Regions from separate parts of the Homo sapiens genome. Here region 1 is linked to region 2. Evidence: promoter capture Hi-C in 16 types of primary human blood cells and fetal thymus (Javierre and others, 2016). All regions are on one chromosome and are shown on one strand. Each heading gives the region's core, a stretch centred on a gene start or on the middle of the fragment in contact. The rest is flanking DNA. Distances are from core to core; before and after follow the strand shown. Region 1 has its middle 9.1 kb from the start of TM4SF18. Region 2 holds the start of COMMD2 (COMM domain containing 2).

Region 1 (4,074 bases), core at 1,110-3,609, 410 kb after region 2:
ATAAGGAATCAACATTTTCCATTTTCAATGTGGTCAAGCAGAAGAATGTTCTTGGTCTTAGAAGGTGCTTATGAAGTTTTTTTCAGTGAAGTTTCATGATGTCTCCAACTTTCAAATGGTTCAGAAAGAAATTATGTGAGAAAGATAAAGAGGATAAAAAATGAGCAATTGATGAATCTAGTTGAAAGATAAACAGTGATCATTGTATTCCTTCAGTTTTTCTAAGTTCAAAATTTTTAGGAGAAACATTTTAGAATAAAGTACTATATTTACTCTTTTGGAATTTTTAAAAACATGTGTTTTTCTCTTTAACTCTAATCAGGAACACATCATTTATATCGGTAAAATGAGCTAGATTATGCTTCAGTAAGCAGCAGCATCAAAATAGCAAGGGCTTAGAAAATCAGAGGTTTACTTCTTTCTCATGTGATATGCCCATTACAGTCAATATAGAAAGTCTGTTCATCATACTACAATTGTAGAGTCATCTCTAACATTGCCATTCTCCATGCAAGACAAAAAAACCAGCCATGGAGAGTCTCTCGCAATTAAAATGCTTGACTGGAAATGACAACATACAGCTCATTAATCACATGACCCAATTCACCCCTAGGGGGAGTCAATGATTTGGAGATATCTGATGAATAGTGTTAATGACTATCACTCCATTCATTTGTTGTGTTTTATGTCGCAGTAAACCCTGATAGATACAGTAAATTAGTACAGTGTAGTGGTCAAGAGCACAGATTCTGCAGCCAGATTATCATAGTTATAGCTCAGCCGCTTGCTAGCGAAGCTTTGGCAAGTTATTTCACCTCTTTGTGCCTCGATTTCTTCCTGCGTAAAAATTAGGTCTAATAGTCGTAACTCACAAAGAAGATTTGGTAAGTTAATATAGCAAAAGCATTTAACAATGGCTGTCATTTACTATCAGCAGCATCATTATTATTCTGAAGTATGAAACTCATACTTGATGCAGTAAGGAAATTTCTCAATGTTTTTCCCACAAATCAAGCAGTACAAAGATTTACAGTGAAAAGTAAGTTTCTGTCTCACATCTGAGCCTCCTCATCCAGTTTTTCTCCCTAGATACGACTGTTACCAGCTGTGGCATTTATGAACCTATTGCCTTTCTGTGCCAAATGCACCCTTCCTTTCTCTGCTTGAGATACTGAAACATCTTTCCTTTGCCAGCTGACACAGTGTTAAGTTTTGCCAGTAGAAGACCTGGAGGGACTCTGGAAGAAAAAGGGGATTATCTTCCTTCCTGATTCTTGTAGACTTTCTGCTCTTGCTTCTGTGGTGCTGGGCTGGTATGTGAGCGACGCAGTGATGGAGCTCACGCCAACAAGTTTCATGGGTGCCCCAGCTGGTTTCCCTGTGGCCAGTTCCTCAATGGTCCTGCAGCAGCATCCTGGAAGCTTTCCAGTGTGTCCCCACCATGGCCCAACCAGTTTCCCACAAGTTCAACAGCACTCCCCATGGGCAGTTTCCCCATGAATTTTGTCAGCACCCCTCAGCCATTGATTTCTTGCCTGCCAGCCTCAGCCTGCTGGTTTCCCACTGGGGGAATTTCCACCTTGCCAGCCCTGGCTTATGACTCCCAACCTGTCAACTGTGGATCAGCTCTGACCTGGAGCAATCCAGCAAAATGCACACCCAGAGGGCTGCACCCTCTCCCAGGAAGTCTGGATCCAACCTTGAGGGGCACCCCTTCCAAGCTCATTTCTTCCTCGGGTACTCTTTGTCAGCCCAAAGGTATTCTTCAGAGTTCTCTTAGTGTTCCTCTTTAGTAATTCCCTGTAAATAATCATTCTTCATATTAAACCTTCTGTATTCAAATTACTTGTGGTTTCTGTCCCCTGAATGGCTCCTGACTAATGCAGCAGCTTCCTGTTGTAGTCTTCCAGAGATCTTTTATGCTTATGCAAGTGTATGTGTGTATACACATGCTTTTGTTATGTAATGGGAACACTTTATATACAGTCTTTTTCTTTTTTTTGAAAATAGAGTCTCTTTTTGTCATTATAACCTCGAACTCCTGGGCTCAAGCCATCCTCTTGCCTCAGTCTTCTGAGTAGCTGGGACTACAGGTGTGTGCCACCATGGACAGCTAATTTTTAAATCTTTTGTAGAGTCAGGGTCTGGTTATGTTGCCCAGGCTGGTCTCAAACTTTTGGACTCAAGTGATCCTCCCGCTTTGGTCTCCCAAAGTGCTAGGATTACAGGTGTCAGCCACTGTGCCCAGTCACATGTTTGTTTGTTTGTTTTTAAACTTAGCCATCATTGCATATCAGCAAAAATATATTTATCTCATTTTTAACAATCGTATAGTAATTCATTGCATAAATAATTCCATAATCTATTTCACCAGTTTTCTATGGATGGAGAGATAGATTTCCAGTCCTTTCTTTCCACAGTAGAATTCTTATTTGATAGGTTTGTATGCCCATGTGCAAACATATCTTATCTGAAAAATTATTCCTGGAAAAGATTCTACTCTTAAATTATCTCCGCGTTCAGTGCCACCACCATATTATAGGTGTTCCTCATTTATAAAAGATGGATGTCTAGTATTTTTTATTGATTAGAATTAAGAAATCATTTTTATACATTTTAATTGTTTAAAGAACATATAAAATCAATGAAAAATATATCCCAAGGAAGTGCTTCGAGACAGGCATGCCCATGCCTATATAGACACAGAGAAACTTAACTCTGTGTGATCCTAGAACACAAATTTTTTATTGAGAATCCTTTACAGTTTTTAAAGTTATACACATTTAAAGTTAATAATATTTGTGCCAAATTAGCCTCTGCCTCCATTCAAGTTGCTATAATGAAATATTTTAAACCCACTAATTTACAAACAACAAAAATTTATTTCTCACAATTCTAGAGTCTGAGCATGTAACTGAGTGTCTACTAGGGTATTCTTTTGCAACTACTTTTTACAAAAATTTCAGGAAAGTGGAAAAACTAGTACAATGAACATTCAGATTTAAGTCCAACAATTGTTAATATTTTGTCACATTTGCTTCATTTATCTATCTACCATTCTTCTCCTCCTCTTCCTCCTCCTTCTCCTTATTCTTTTGCTAAACCATTTCAGGGAGGAAGACATATGCATCTCCAAAAATTTAGAGCAACTCCTTCATAACACCATCATTACATCCAAGTTAATAACAACCTTCTAATATTGTCTAATACGGTCTACATTCATACATTCGTATTTTTCCAATCATCCCCAAAATGTGTCTCACCATGTTTTGCCAAACCAATATCCAATCAAGCTTCACACTGCATTTATCTACCAGTGAATATCTAGCTTTTTTTTTTTTGTAACAGGATCTCACTCTGTCACCCTGGTTGAAATACAGTGGCACAATCACGGCTCACTGCAGCCTCATTCTCCCAGGCTCAAGCGATCTTCTCACCTCAGCCTCCCAAATAGTTGGGACTACAGACATGTGCCACCATGCCTGGCTAATTTTTAAAAAATTTTATGCAGAGACGAGGTCTTGCTATGTTGTTCAGGCTGGTCTCTAACTCCTGGGCTCAAGTGATCCTCCTGCCTCAGTCTCCTGAAGTGTTGAGATTACAGGAATGAGCCACCACACCTGGCAACATTTAGCTTTGATTGAGGCTCAGTTTACCTAGATACTTGCATCTTAACCTTGAAGACTCAGTTTTGTCCTCCAGACTTCCAAGAAATCTCACTTGAACTCCAGCTCCATTCAAGGTTCCTGTGTCTTTCAAAAAGCCTATGGTTAAATCTACTGGATATTCAACATTTTGTATTACGAATTTGTTGTTTAACTTTTTTATTTCCTCAACTAGACTCTGAGCATTTTGAAGGAATGGGTGTTCTTTGCCTCAGTCATCATGTGTCATCATGTAAATGTTCAATACACGTTTTAAGAATAAATGACTGAATACAGTTCCTTCCTCCCCTACTATGAAGAGCTTGAATAAATAAATTAATTCTAGGAGGCTGGGAGCCAGTCAGAAGGGAGTAAAGGGAGGTTCAACAATGGTCTGAGAGGACATTTCAAATACAGAAAGCTGCTTTGG
Region 2 (3,498 bases), core at 999-3,498:
TTCTAAACAATTATATCACTTATGGCAACAGAAGTCACTCTATAAATTATCCTGGGGTGTTTTAACTCCCAGGCTGGTTTTTCTTGGATATAACTTGGTTTCTTTCTTTTTTTTTTTTTTGACAGTGTCTGACTCTGTCACCCAGGCTGGAGTGCAGTGACTCAAATCTTGCTCACTGCAACCTCTGCCTCGCAGGTTCAAGCAATTTTCATGCCTTGGGCTACCAAGTAGCTGGGACCACAGGTACATGCCACCAAGCTTTGCTAATTTTTGTATTTTTAGTAGAGATGGGGTTTTACCATGTTGGTCAGGCTAGACTTGAATTTCTGGCCTCAAGTGATCCTCCCGCCTTGGCCTTCCAAAGTGCTGGGTTTACAGGCATCAGCCACCATACCTGGCCTAACTTGGTTCCTTGACCACCTTTTTTAGACAGCCTATTGTGCTACTCCCTAGTCTCACCTTCACCTCGCCTGTCCTCACTTCATTCCCTGAGATTACAGACAAGAAAGGCCATTTCATATTGGCATAATATTGTGTCTATTTGCAAATTCATTTCAGCATTCCTACTCCCTATATATGTACAGTTCTTGAATACCTCTTTTGAATCAGTTGAAACTGGTTTTTACTGTAATCTCTCATTAATTACAGAATGCTGTAATTCTCTCATTAATTAACTAGTTCAATACATTTTTTGACATGTGTTCATTGTACACTTGTAGAAGAATCATGATTTTACCTTTTCTGAAAATTATTCTTTAATAATGGATGTTTTCTCAATAATGTGTGAATAAAGGCAACTTCAGGAAATGATGCAATTTTTGCTAATCTGCAATTCACAGTCTAAGTAAAAGTTGTGTTCTCTCTGCAAATGCTACTTCAAGAACTAACTAATAAGTTCAAGGACCTGTCTTTCTGTGTCCCAGTGGAAGAAACAATTTCAGTCAGATGTGAAGGACAAAGTAGACACAGAGAAGTGAATTGAAAAACTCTTCCAATTTTTAGTCTGCCTGGGAGACTCAGAATATAGAGTTGTCTCAAGCCTTAGATAGAAAAGACAGATATGAAGAGTCTTCTTCCCTTCCCCTCTCTTCCTCCACACCCTCCATTTTCAAGGGGTTAAGATTTGAAGAATCATATTCCTATCAATTAGCAACTTTATCATCTCTGATATTTGAACCACAGCAGGTGAGAAGAGAGTTGGAAAAGGAACTAAATTATCACAGGCGCTAAATACTTTTTAAAAGGCATTGCTCTGGGCCAGGTGTGGTGGTTCATGCTTGTAATCCCAGCACTTTGGGAGGCCAAGTTGGCTGGATGACTTGAGGTCAGGAGTTCAAGACCAGCCTGGCCAACATGGTGAAAACCCGTCTCTACTAAAAATACAAACATTAGCCAGGCATGGTGGTGGGCGCTTGTAATACCAGCTACTCGGGAGGCTGAGGCAGGAGAATCGCTTGAACCCGGGAGGCAGAGGTTGCAGTGAGCCGGGCGACAGAGCGAGACTCCATGTAAAAAACAAAACAAAACAAAACAAACAAACAAAAACATTGCTCTGAATCCTGTAAGCATCGGTCATTGTCATCATTATCTTTATCCTAATTTATAATCACTCATAAAACTTGTCAGAAGCTTTCAGCTTTCAGGCTGTTATGTAGAAGGATGGGCTTTGCAGCAGGTAAGTGAGGGATCCAACCCTCTCCATCTAACTCTGTCACAGGCTTTGTCACATAATCTCTGGAGCTTTGTGTCTTATCTGTAAAAACAAAGCCATGTTTGTTGAGGATATTAACTGAGATACATTTAAGATAACATAGAAGCTCTGGAAACTATTAGCTTTATAAAAGTGTCAGTTGCTGGACTTGTCTATCAGTTTCCTTATCTCTAATGGAAATTATAATGGAACCTACCTCATAGGGTTCTTCTGAACTCCAAATGTATTTAATAAATGTAAGAACACTTCCTGACACGGTTAGTGCTTAACAAATGTGAACTATTGATATTATTAATGTATGCTCCACGAGGGGGCGTGTCGGATTTGAAACACCTTTTCATCTCCCATAGAGCCTAGCACCTTGCACCCAGCAGGCGCTCACTGCATCTTTGCGGGATGATTTCAATGTTCTGACCTCAGCCTGCGCTGCAGGGAACGTCCGAGTGTAACGCGTTAGTTCGTAGGCCGGAACCCAAAGCTCCGGACGCTGCGACGCCGGAGCCTCTAGGCGCCGGGACACGGGCGCCGGAAGTGGCGAAGGCGGGGTCGGCGCTGCCGGGTGAAATCGTAGGACAGTGAAGATGCTGCTGGAATTGTCCGAGGAGCATAAGGAACACCTGGCCTTCCTGCCTCAAGTGGACAGCGCGGGTCAGCGGGCGTGGGGGCGGTGTTCTGTGGGCTGGGGAGGAGGTCAAAGGCAGCGCCTGGCACTCAACAGCCTTCTGACTTTCATTGCAGTGGTCGCCGAGTTTGGGCGGATTGCTGTGGAATTCCTGAGACGCGGCGCAAACCCAAAAATCTACGAAGGCGCCGCCAGTAAGAAGGGAAAGGGGAAGGCTCCGCAGGCTTCTAGGGCGGTTGCGAGCCATTCCCTGTCTCCCGGGAGAGAAACGGATTATTGCGAGTCCTAGGGTCTTGTTCCGATTGTAGTAGAATAAAACCAGCAGAGCTCTTCAGTCAGGGTGCAAATCCTGCCCGTCCCTTAAGTAGCTGTGAGATTGTTAAAGCTTCTATTAAATCAGTTTTCTCATGGTAAAATGTACATAATACCACCTTACTTTCAGAAATACTGAAAAGTGTTTTGTATAAATATACCAAAGTCTGTGGAATAGCTGGGTCAACTGTAAATTGCAAGTATTTGGTTATCATTATTAGTTGTTCAGATATCCGCTTTTGCTAAAAAAAAAAAAAAAAGTGTTGTTTTACCCCTGGGTAAGAGGCAGTCTCTGGGATTAAGTCAATCCCTGTCGAGTTCCTCTTCTGCCAGACTTGAAGGAGCTACGTATTCAAGAGAAGGGCTACGCACCTGATACTAGTCTCCACAGTTCTGCATTTTGTTAAGGTTACTTGGTGGGAAATACCAAAGGCATTTGGCTGGGAGTGGAATGACAAGGAGCAGGAGCCTCTGGCCAACTTACTGTTTTTCATGCAGTGTTTGAAAACATGTAATAATGAATAGTGTTTATTTTTAAATACAAATATGAACAAGATAAATACTACAGTAGTAATTTATTTGCTCGTTTTTACTTTTCTTTCTCAGGAAAACTCAATGTGAGTAGTGACACTGTCCAGCATGGTGTGGAAGGATTAACGTATCTCCTCACTGAGAGCTCAAAGCTCATGGTAAGGGATTTTCTGGACTGTTTTGTGTTGGCTGGATTCTTAAGAACGGTCTGGTGTACTCTACATCATAGTCCTGGCAGGTACCTGTGTGTTTTAATAATGTTGTTAATGGTTTATAATTGATTTTTTGAAGACATACCTAAAAAATAAAAATCATATCATCT

Evidence for each region. Contacts are between HindIII fragments. The CHiCAGO score rates a contact against its expected background, and 5 or more counts as called.
Region 1: a fragment that was not itself captured here is called in contact with the fragment with the promoter of COMMD2 in region 2 in 1 of 17 cell types (M2 macrophages); the score reaches 6.3 in M2 macrophages.

Annotation. Positions count from the first base shown.
Region 1 is chr3:149,340,675-149,344,748 of GRCh38, reverse strand. No RefSeq gene overlaps it. Among named protein-coding and RNA genes, the nearest start is that of TM4SF18, 9.1 kb to the right of the region's middle. RefSeq lists an enhancer at 4,041-4,074. The HindIII fragment of the contact is 1,872 bases long and covers 1,424-3,295 here.
Region 2 is chr3:149,751,239-149,754,736 of GRCh38, reverse strand. COMMD2 (COMM domain containing 2) reads left to right here and starts at 2,248. Exons shown (of 5, transcript NM_016094.4): 1 at 2,248-2,359; 2 at 2,450-2,527; 3 at 3,252-3,334. The coding sequence starts at 2,293. RefSeq lists a silencer at 2,023-2,092. The HindIII fragment of the contact is 1,089 bases long and covers 1,632-2,720 here.